Linked DNA regions of Homo sapiens: all the other regions are linked to region 1. The links are contacts of gene promoters, found by promoter capture Hi-C in human tissues and cell types (Jung and others, 2019). All regions are on one chromosome and are shown on one strand. Each heading gives the region's core, a stretch centred on a gene start or on the middle of the fragment in contact. The rest is flanking DNA. Distances are from core to core; before and after follow the strand shown.

Region 1 (2,700 bases), core at 9-2,508:
ACCATGCATGGCAAATTTTGGTATTTTTTGTAGAGACGAGGTTTCACCATGTTGGCCAGGCTGGTATTGAACTTCTGACCTCAGGTGATCCGCCCGCCTCGGCCTCCCAAAGTGCTGGGATTACAGGCGTGAGACACCGTGCCCCGCAGGGTCTGTTCATTTCTAGGTCCATTGTATTCTGACTGCCTGGTCTTGGGGTGGAAGTTCTACTTCCAGAGCCACCCAGCCTAAGCCTCCCAGATCTGGAAAGGGTAGGCCTGGCTGCCCTGGTCAGAGTCCCAGTGCCCCAGGTGGCTGCGGCCAGGGCATCCAGGGCACAATAGCCCCACCCTTAGTCCCCAGGCCTCAGTGCCCACTGCTACTCAGATGCCCAGGGGTGAGGGGCGGATCACAATGACCCTGAAGCGGCCCAGAGGCAGCCGGGAGGGGCTGGGAGAGGCACCAGGCAGGGATGATGGGCTCTACAGCCTGCCTGTAGAGAGCTCTAAACTCACAGGACCTTCTAGGGCCCCACCCAGAAGCCCACCAGGGTGAGTGTGACACTGCCCAGGAGTCAGCTCAGAGCTGACAACAATCTGGGAGTGGGGTGTGGTTGGGAGGAAGCAGGCTTAGAAACCCCTCAGTGTCAGAGCTGGGAGTAAGACTGGGGCTCTGCCTCCCAAAGGGGGAGTTTGTTAAAAGTCTGTGTCTTGGCCAGAAGTGGGGACTCACGCCTGTGATCCCAGCACTTTGGGAGGCCAAGGCAAGTGGATCACTTGAGCCCAGGAGTTCAAGACCAGCCCGTGCAACATAAATACAAAAAAATTCTACCCCATTTCTACAAAATATACAAAAATTAGCCAACTGTGGTGGTGTGTGCCTGTAGTCCCAGCTACTCAGGAGGCTGAGGCAGGAGGATCACTTGAGCCCAAGAATTTGAGGCTGCAGTGAGCTATGATGGTGCCATTGCACTCCAGCCTGGGTGACAGCAGGACCCCGTCTTAGCAAGACCCCATCTCTTTAACAACAACAACAAGAACAACAAACTGTCTTGGCTCCAGCAGAGACGTACTGAATCAGAATGGGGGCTGGGGGTAAGTCATCTGTATTTTCAACAGGCTCCCCACCCAGGGGTCTCTGAGGCAGCACCAGGGCTGGGAGGCTGCTGGTCAGGTCTCTCTTCCCTCAAGCTGGTTCCAGGTTTCCTAATTCCCAGTAGAGCGCTAATGACGGTAACAGTTCCACGCTTTGAACACTGCAAGGCAGGCTAAGTGCTCTCTCTACCAGCGGTGATGCGGTGATGCCGTTTCACGGCTGCAGAGAGGCAGGTGCTGCTATTATCCCCATTCTGCAGACCAGAGCCCCCAGGGAAGGCAGAGGGAAGTTAATTGGCTTGGCCAAGGTTACAAAGCTAATAAGTGGTGGAGCTGGGACTAAATCCTAAATAATAATAACTTTGAAATACTAAGAATGGCAGCTAGTCTATGTGTAAGCTTGGCCAGCGTGCCTGGCACTGTACCGAGCTTGCTGTTCTAAGACTGGCATGTACTTGCTCATTTAAACGTCACAGCAACCCCCAAAGTTGGCTACTCTTGCTGTCACCATTTTTCAGGTGAGGAAACAGAGGCTCTGGGAGCTCTCGCCTGAAGCCACTCGCTGTCCGCCGGGCCGGTGGCGTTCACCCCGCACCGCGCTGCCCCGCCCGGGGCACTATGGCCTGGGGCTGGACTATGCCCTCCCCACCTCAGCCGGCGCCCCCCACCCACGCGCGCTGAGGGTGCGGTGAGCTGAGTGCGGGGCCAAGCATGTTCTGGCGTCGACTTCGCCCAGGGGCCCAGGACCTGGCGCCCAAGGGGCTCCCTGGCGACGGAGACTTCCGACGCAGCAGCGACCCGCGGCTGCCCAAGCTGACCCCGCCCGCGCTCCGAGCGGCTCTGGGCGCGCGGGGCTCCGGGGACTGGAGGATCCCGGGGGGCGGCGCCGCGTGGTGGCCGGAAGGGGACGCCAAGCCCGGGGTGGGCGTCGGACGCCTCCCGCCGCGCCTGCCCGCCTTGCTCACCGCGACCCGGCGGGCCGTGCGGAAGCGGGGGCTGCTGCGGTCCCTGCTGCCGCCTCCCCTGCTGTCGGCCGGCGCGTCCCGGGAATCGGCGCCCAGGCAGCCAGGGCCTGGAGAGCGCGAGCGCCCCCGGAGGCGCGTGGCCAGGGAGGACCCCGACTTCTTGGGCGCCTTCCTAGGAGAGCTCCTCCCCAGCAGGTTCCGTGAGTTCCTGCACCAGCTCCAGGAGAAGTGCGCCGAGGAGCCGGAGCCACTGAGTGAGGCCCCGCGGGGCCCGGGGGGCGGGCCCGAGTCATTTCCGGTGGGGGGTGGTCCCTTGTGTCCCCGCACCCACCACCCCACCACCCAGGCTAGAAGGATGCTAATGTTAGCTGAGTATCTCAGAGCCCTCGCAACCCGTCCTTGAGGGCTGGTCTGCCATCACCCCGAGGCCACATGACTAGAAAGGACCGTCCCCCAGCCAAGGCTCACAACTGTTTCCTCCTGGCTCCAGCATCCCCAGCACCGCAACATCAAAGGGGTGTATTAGAGCACTGCCCAGGGTCTCCGCGGTGTCCCAACTGTTCATTCCTCCCAGACCTGTGGTAAGCGTCAGTCCGCTTCTTGGTGGGGACGGGGTTGCCATCGATGTTTCCAGGGCGGGACAGCCTGGCCACTCATGCCAG
Region 2 (2,700 bases), core at 92-2,591, 360 kb after region 1:
AAGTTTCCTGAGGCCTCCCCAGCCATGCTTCCTATATAGCCTTCAGAATCATGAGCCAATTAAACCTCTTTTCTTTGTAAATTACCCAGAACCATGAGCCAATTAAACCTCTTTTCTTTATAAATTACCCAGTCTCAGGTAGTTCTTTATAGCAATGTGAGAACAGACTAATACAGCCTCCATCTGTAAAATGCAGAAGCCAACAGTCTCTGCCTCATTCTAAGATGTAAACGAAATTTGACTGTCAGTGCTCAGCACAGTGCCTCAAATGCAGTGATCACCCCTAAAACATCACCTAGTGTGAAAATTATCATCGTGGTCAAATGTCTCCAAATGCTTACCTTTCTCCATCCAGCACCTGTGGATGTCCCATTAGAGTTTCTTAATATTATGATTTATCAGTGACCACCATAGCCCAGGTCCTGTCACTAAGCCCCCGTGTGCCAGGAATTCGGTGTGCACCATCCTGGCATCTGCTGGAGCCCCCAGAGTGCTGACCTTGCCTGCCTTCCCCTGCACGTGTTCTTCCTCCAGAAGCCTATAGTTTGGAATCACCATTTTTCTCTTTTTCTTGCTCCCAGCGTCCAGGATCCTAGCTAAATGGCCCTCTAAAACTGTGGGATATCTCGGGAGCACCCCCCTGGCCCAGTCCTGTGGAGACGGTAGAAGAGACAGGCAAAAGGAAGCGTGTCTCTGAGATCCTGAAACTTACATGTAGTTGTGGGGAGGCCAGGCACAGTGGCTCACATCTTTAATCCCGGCACTTTGGGAGGCCAAGGTGGGCAGATCCCTTGTGGTCAGGAGTTTGAGACCAGCCTGGCCAACATGGTGAAACCCCATCTCTACTAAAAATATAAAAATTAGCCGGGCGTGGTGGCACATGCCTGTAATCCCAGCTACTGGGGAGGTTAAGGCAGGAGAATTGCTTGAACCCAGGAGGCGGAGGTTGCAGTGAGCCAAGATCACACCACTGCACTCCAGCCTGGGCAACAAGAGCGAAACTCCGTCTCAGAAAAAAAAAAAAAAAAAAAAAGCATGTAGTTTGCGGGGAAGGGGTGATTTGCACCTAGAGTTACCAGGCAACAATTCAAGCCAATGGCAGGAAGCTGGACAGGATTCACACCGGAGGTGCGGGAAATTCCTGCTGGCGCTTCTGTCAGAAGCCAGGTCTGGGTGTTAGGCAGCGACTCATACCCTGGGATCAAGAACTCTGTTGCCTTCACCTTCCCCTCCCTTTCCTCTTGCTTGGGGGTTGGACGCTCCTGAGAAGACAGGGTGGAGGGCAAAGGTGGAACTGGAGATGGGCCCAGACCCCTCTGCCCAGAGAGCGGGTGGTGGGAGAGAGGACATTGATTCTGGACAGGACCAGGATTACGGGAGAAACCCCAGAAAACCAGAACCAGAGAGCCCTGCTGACTCTACCCACTCTCCTAACTTTACAGAGGGCAGCCTGAGGACCAGGGAAGGCAGGGGACTTCCCCAAGGTCACAGACAAAGTCAGCCTCAGGGCTGAGACCCTGACACGGGTCTCCTGACCTTACCTCCAGCCCTCTGTCCTCTGGACAGCAAGGGAGGCATCGTGGAGAGCTCTGGGGAGAATTTTATTTTTGATGGTGGCCAAGATGCTGTGCTAGGACCTTCCGACATCTCAGCAAATCCTCCCCCTGCACGAGGGAGGACACTATTATTGTCCCCAATAGTCAGAAGAGGAAGATCAGTGATGGGAAGCAATTTGCTCAAGATTCCGCAGCCCAGAGGCCCATTTTGAGCCCAAATTCCTACCCCGTCCCTGCCGTGCTTCTTAGAACCAGAGAGAGGCCTGTCGGGTTTGCAAAGACAGCCTCGCCCCTGCCAGGCTCTGAACCTCAGTCTCGTCTACAAGGAGGACGCCACCTCTCTCCTCAAGCTTGTTTCCAGAATGAAAGGAGGAAGTGCGTGGCCTGGCCCGTGGGAGGCGCTTGGGAAACGGCAAATGTGCAGTGGGCGGCCCATCCTCAAAAGTTCGGCAAACACAAAGCACTTTTTCTTTACAATTTTTTTAGCATTTTTTTTTTATTGTGGTAAAATATCCATACCAGAAAGTTACCATTTTAGTCATTTGTACGTGTTCCGTGAACGTGGCTTTAAGCATATTCACGTTGTTGTGTAACCATCCCCACCATCCATCTCCACAACCGTCTCATCTTCCCAAACGCACACTCTGTCCCCGTGAGACACTCATTCCCGGCGGCCCTTCTTATACTTTCAAAAATGAACCTCCTGCCGCATATCCTGGCTGGGCAGGCTGGGAAGGGGAAAAAAATGACAATAGACTGGTGGAATAATGAGGACAGAGAACAGGAAGTGAGGAAAGAAGAGGCTTGGGGGGCTGGACGCGGTGGCTCACGCCTGTAATCCCAGCACTTTGGGAGGTCAAGGCGGGGGCAGACCACGAGGTCAGGAGATCGAGACCATCCTGGCTAACATAGTGAAACCCCAACTCTACTAAAAATACAAAAATTAGCCGGGTGTGGTGGCATGTGCCTGTAGTCCCAGCTACTTGGGAGGCTGAGGCAGAAGAATCGTTTGAACCTGGGAGGTGGAGGTTGCGGTGAGCTGAGATCATGCCACTGGACTCCAGCCTAGGTGACAGAGCGAGACTCTGTCTCAAAAAAAAAAAAAAAAAAAAAAAAAGAGGCTTCAGGGCAGAGCATTAAGGTG
Region 3 (2,700 bases), core at 93-2,592, 340 kb after region 1:
GGTGCTGGGCCCATGGGAGCAAAGGCTGAGTACTGCGGCCTCCCACCACCCCCCTGCCCCACCTCCACCCTGAAGTGTCCTGTTTAGCGGAATATCAGGTGTCATTGTGTGCCCTGGGGTGCTGACGGGGAGGGGATCACCTGGCCACAGGAGACCCCTGAAGCCTGGGGGAGGGGTCTGCTTCAGCTCCAGTGAGGGCGGGATTCCTGGGGTGAACTCGTGACCTTAAGCATGACCTTGAGCATGACCTTAAGCATGACCTTGAGCGTGACTTTGAGTTGTTGCTCCTTTCAACGCCACACGCACGCCTGATTCCTGGGCCCTTTTCTCTCCCCCAGTCCCTTCCTGCCACACACACTCCTATTTCTCCACATCTTTCCCCTCTAAATGACGGGGTAACCAGAAGTGACACCACAGCCGCTGGACCCCTCACGGCGCGAACATGAAACTGGGCAGGTCTGGGTTTGGCCACCCGTTCCCTGACTTGCTGGCTGTGTGGCCTTATGCAGGTCACTTGCCCTCTCTGAGCCTCAGCTTTCTCGCCTGTAAAGTGAGGGGCACGTGAGCTCCCGCCTTGCAGGGCTGTGTGTGTTGCGGGTGGTCTTGGAAGCCGCACTCAGTGTGGACAGGCAGCAGTGCTCCCATGCAGGTGCCACGTCAATATCATCACGTGGTTCCTGTTTAGGTCCTGCTCATTCCTCCAAGGGCCGAGGCAGCTCCGGGGGAATGGGGAGGGCGTGGCCTCTGCCCTGGTCCTAGCCGGGTCTGCGGCTGCTGGTGTCCACCTGTGGTTCTCAAAGGGTGGTCCTCCTGGCCAGCAGCATTGGCCTTGCCCAGGAACTTGTCAGAAATTCAGATTCTCTGGCCTGGCCAGTCCTGGGAATCAGAACCCCTGGGATGCAACCAGCCACCTGTGCTTTCACGAGGCCCCAGGGGCCTCTCGCAGGCACTGGTGTGAACCAGGAGATCCTGGAGGGTGGCGGCCCATCTTGTGCCCCCTACCCTCACTCCCATCACAGGGTCTGGTCCTCCCATTTCTCCAGTCACTCTGCACTAAACGCTGGACAATGGCCCCTAAGTACAGGCCCTCGTCTGCTAGTTAACAACTGGGGGGCCCAGGTTCTCCAAATGTGGTCCCCAGAGTACCCACACCAGACCACGAGGGAGCCTGACAAAATGCAAGCCCCTGAGTGCCCCCTAGACCGGCTGGGCATGGCTCCCCAAGAATTTGCTCTGGGGACACCCACAAGTCCCAGAACAGGGGGAGGAAAATGAAGGGCACAGGAAAAGCCGGGCCCTGGGGAGGAGATGGAGGAAAAGGGAAGTCAGACAAGATTCCCCAGTGCCAGTGACGGGCACCACTGCCTCCCCAGAGCCACCACAAGCCAGCCGCCCCTTGGCAGCAGGGGTCTGGGAGCCCTTGGCAGTTCAACCCTGTACGGACACCGTTTGAGGGGCTAGAAATAAGCCAGGATGAAATGTTATGAAATAATAATAATAGTCCCTTCTCTGGCCCACTGCAGAACCCTAGAAAGTAAGGGACTGGGGCCAACGGCAGCTGCAGTCAAGGTGCCTGCAGCTATGTGACCCCAGGGCCTAGCCCGCCCCTGCCTCCCGCCCTTCACTTAATTCCAAATACCTTTTCTCTTGTCAGCCGCAAGTCAGTGGGCTTCAAAGTCAGGCGGTGGCTCCCGTGACCCTTTGTGGGGAGGGCAGGGGTGGGCCCAGCTTCTGTGTGTTCTGCTCAGTGGGCCAGGAGGCCCCAGGCCTGCAACGAGAGGGAGGGAGGGAGCTCGGCCTGCCGGTCATTGCTCCGCACCTAGGCCCTTGCAGCTTGGAACGGACCAGCAGCCGGGAACAGCTGGTCCGATCCCACCGCCCTGCTAGGGAGGCTGCCCAAGGTACCCGGAGAGCCTTGGACTGGGGAGCTCAGGGCTGGATGAGCCAGAGCTCCAGGAGAGGAAGGCTGCGCTCACCTGAACTAAAAGTCGTGTTACAATCATACCTGCAGGTGTCAACCTCACTTTCGTTGCAGAGAGGAGGGTCTGGAATCACATGCTCCTCCAGGCAGCATTTTACAGAAAGCTGCCCTGACAGCCACGACGTACTCCCCCACTTCTACCTCTATCTCGGATTCTGTTGCAGAATGTGGCGAGGTATCACAGGGCTGCCAGCCACGGACAGGTTTGAGGGGACCGGAGTAGGGGGTTGCAGGGACGAGCTGGCAGGATCCAAATCCCTCCCGTCAGATGTGTCTCCACCCACAGCTTCCTTTTCCATTGGAGCAAACATAACAAAACAAGTGTCAACTACACTTCCTGATTCCTGAGTTACGAAAAGCCAGTGCCACCCACAGGTCCGTCCACCCCCTCCTCTTGACCCGGCCCTTCCAGTGGCACCTTATTCTGTTATTTGCTCTCTATTTTTCTTTAAAAGCATTCACTGCTATTACTTAGGTAAATGCATCCATAAGGGAACTTTATGTGACTACTGTTAGGTGGAAAAAAAACTAAGATCATGGGCCATAAATAGAAGGTAAAAGTAAAAATAAATTACAATTAAAATAAGCAATGTTAGGAAATTCTAGCTGGCTATTGTTGCCTGCCGATGGCATTTTGATAGAAAAGCGTTGGGGAGTTGCAAGCTTCCCCTCCAGGGGACCAGAGGGCTGAGACAGAGAAGGGAATCACCTTTGTGTGG
Region 4 (2,700 bases), core at 190-2,689, 460 kb after region 1:
TCACACAGGGCCCCATGTTCAAATGAGCCCATGCTTGGAGTCTAATGCTCTGCTGTCTTGAAATTCAACATCATTTTATCGTTGAGTTTGTGTTGAGTGAAGTCTGAGACAGTGGAGCGTGTTTGAAGCTTCGACTCAGGTGCAGTCCTGTCTCCTGCCACCTCCCCACCTCCCTGAGACAGGTTCTTGGTCCCCCTGCTACCCTGCCCCCTGGCACTCTGGTGCCCTGGCTCTGCCTGGCCTCTCCCTCCCATCCTCGGCAGGGACCTGGGCACAGGCGTAGAGAGGGTTGAGTTCAGGCATCCGTGAGCAGCACCTTGCAGGGCACGGTGACAGCCGCCACTGCTGTGCATTAGCAGCACCACAGCCTGACTGGCAGCCAACCAGAGACCGTGTCTAGACGTGGGGTGAACCTTTCACCTACCCCGATCTGGGTACTGAGGTCCTTAGAGACCACTCCTCTGCTGTAGGTTGAGGTGGGGGCCTGTGGGAAGGGGAGGTACCAGGACTCAGGACATCAGCCCAGTGGTTGGTTGGAAGGTTAATCCAGCAGCTGCCAGGCCCCATCTAGAGAGAGCACGCAGGGAGGCATAGCAGGGGTGGAGGGGGCTGGGAGGGTGTGCACCCTTGTGGCAATCTCCCATACGGAGAAGCACTATCTTAACCACCTTAACCAGGGGGTCTTCTCCTCCCCCTATAACCTTCCTGAGCCTGGCTTGTGTTTGTCTTTTCTGGCCAGTTCAAGGCACACTCAGGGACAAGCCACAGAATATGAATTGTGCAATTTCAGCGATTCTGCACATGAATTAAATGCTCTGGTATTTATATTTATAACTGGTATTACACAGCCAGGCAGAGTGGCTCATGCCTGTAATCCCAGCACTTTGGGAGGTGGGCAGATCACTTGAGGTCAGAAGTTCAATACCAGCCTGGCCAACGTGGTGAAACCCTGTCTCTACTCAAAATACAAAAATTAGCCAGGTGTGGTGGCACACACTTGTAATCCCAGCTACTCAGGAGGCTGAGGCACGAGAATTGCTTGAACTTGGGAGGCAGAGGTTGCAGCGAGCCGAGATTGGCCACTGCACCCCAGCCTGAGTGACAGGGAGAGAGGCTCCATCTTAAAATAAATAAATAAATAAATATAAATAAAACTGGTATTACGCAATATAAAGATGAATGGTAAAATTCATGCTAATTATTTACAATAATTACACCTTTCTAAGTACACCTTTCTGTACTTAGAATGACATTGAATAGAAAATTTAAAATGCCATGACAAGTTGAGAGATGGTGGAAGGAAGCGTTCTATGGACCCTTCGTGGCACTTTTTCCTGCTTTTTGAGCAAGGGGCCCTGCATTTTCATGTTGTATCGCACCCCACAGATCCTGTACCTGGCCTTGCCACTGGCATCCCCAGGATGGCATCTTCCCAGCTTAGCAGCCCTGGCACAGGGCATCTTCCCACCTGATCTAACAGAGGGCATTGGGGATGATCCTCATTGGCACAGCCAGGTCACAAGCTCATCCCAGAACCAATCACAGTGCACAGGAAAGCAGGGCCCCTGTGATTGGCCAGGTCTGGGCATGTGTCCACCCCTGAGTAGGGGGCTGACCGGCCCCACCTCAACCCTTTCTCGTGGCTTCTCCATTGGGAAGAAGGTTCTGTTGCCAGAGGAGAGGGCGCTGCACAGCCACAGGCCGCCACTGTGCGTCTTGTACACACACCTCTCGTGCTTGGTGTGAAAAAATAAAAAATGTAGATACCAGCTGGAGGAGAGACGCAATGTAGTTCCTCTCTTCCGGCTCATAGTTCCCAGTCTCCCTTCCTCTAAATGCCGGCGAGTCCCAGGGCTCAGGCCTTGGCCCCTTCTCCCTTCCTGCCACCTTCTCCTGGTCCCTTCAACCCACTGACAATTCTCTCCAGCCAGGACCTCCGTGCCGAATGCAAGTCAAGGGTCCCACCATGTTTGGCCTCTACTCTTGGGATACTGACATCTAAGAACTCGTCTGTCTGGGCCTTTCAAACCCCGGAGAGACACCTACAACCTCTGCTTCTCCCCGCCATTGCCCCGTCCCACCATCCAGCAAGTTGTTCAGGCCAAAAACCAGGGCATCGTGACTCCTTTTTTGTTCACAAAGCCAAATCCAGTCCATCAGCAAATCCTCCTTCAGAAGAGATTCACAATCAGGCCAGACACGGCGGCTCACGCCTGTAATTCCAGCACTTCGGGAGGCCAAGACAGGAGGATCACCTGAGGTCAGGAGTTCATGACCAGCCTGGCCAACATGGTGAAACCCCCATCACTACTAATAAATACAAAAATTAGCCAGGCGTGGTTGCGCATGTCTGTAATCTCAGCTCCTCGGGAGGCTGAGGCAGGAGAATCACTTGAATCCAGGAGGCAGAGGCTGCAGTGAGCCGAGATCGCGCCATTGCACTCCAGCCTGGTGACAGACACTCCGTCTCAAAAAAAAAAAAAAAAAAAGAAGAGCTTCACAATCTACCTTAGTACCATTGCTGTTGCTCTCCCAGCCCAGCCACACCACCTCCCTCCTGGACTAGTGCACTAACCTCCCTGCAGATCTCCCTGGTCTTCCTGTGTTCGCGCTTGCCCTCCTACTGGCCGTTCTCCTCCTCTCCACTCCCGTACATGCGAACATGTTGAAGTCGAATCATAGCTCTCCCCATCTCAAACC

Evidence for each region. Contacts are between HindIII fragments. The study calls those that stand out against the background at their distance.
Region 2: a fragment that was not itself captured here is called in contact with the fragment with the promoter of C9orf50 in region 1 in 1 of the 25 tissues and cell types used here (lymphoblastoid cells).
Region 3: a contact is called between a fragment that was not itself captured here and the fragment with the promoter of C9orf50 in region 1, in 1 of the 25 tissues and cell types used here (dorsolateral prefrontal cortex).
Region 4: a contact is called between a fragment that was not itself captured here and the fragment with the promoter of C9orf50 in region 1, in 1 of the 25 tissues and cell types used here (dorsolateral prefrontal cortex).

What each region holds. Positions count from the first base shown.
Region 1 is chr9:129,619,659-129,622,358 of GRCh38, reverse strand. It overlaps C9orf50 (chromosome 9 open reading frame 50), which reads left to right and starts at 1,258. Exons shown (of 7, transcript NM_199350.4): 1 at 1,258-2,292; 2 at 2,529-2,619. The coding sequence starts at 1,785. It also overlaps a transcript of NTMT1 not described here. RefSeq lists an enhancer at 1,146-1,796. The HindIII fragment of the contact is 8,954 bases long and covers 1-2,700 here.
Region 2 is chr9:129,260,915-129,263,614 of GRCh38, reverse strand. No RefSeq gene overlaps it. Among named protein-coding and RNA genes, the nearest start is that of LINC02975, 20 kb to the left of the region's middle. The HindIII fragment of the contact is 3,830 bases long and covers 1-2,700 here.
Region 3 is chr9:129,281,998-129,284,697 of GRCh38, reverse strand. It overlaps LINC02975 (long intergenic non-protein coding RNA 2975), which reads right to left and starts at 2,282. Exons shown (of 3, transcript NR_121587.1): 1 at 2,006-2,282; 2 at 1,640-1,768. The HindIII fragment of the contact is 7,354 bases long and covers 1-2,700 here.
Region 4 is chr9:129,161,565-129,164,264 of GRCh38, reverse strand. No RefSeq gene overlaps it. Among named protein-coding and RNA genes, the nearest start is that of IER5L, 15 kb to the left of the region's middle. The HindIII fragment of the contact is 3,183 bases long and covers 1-2,700 here.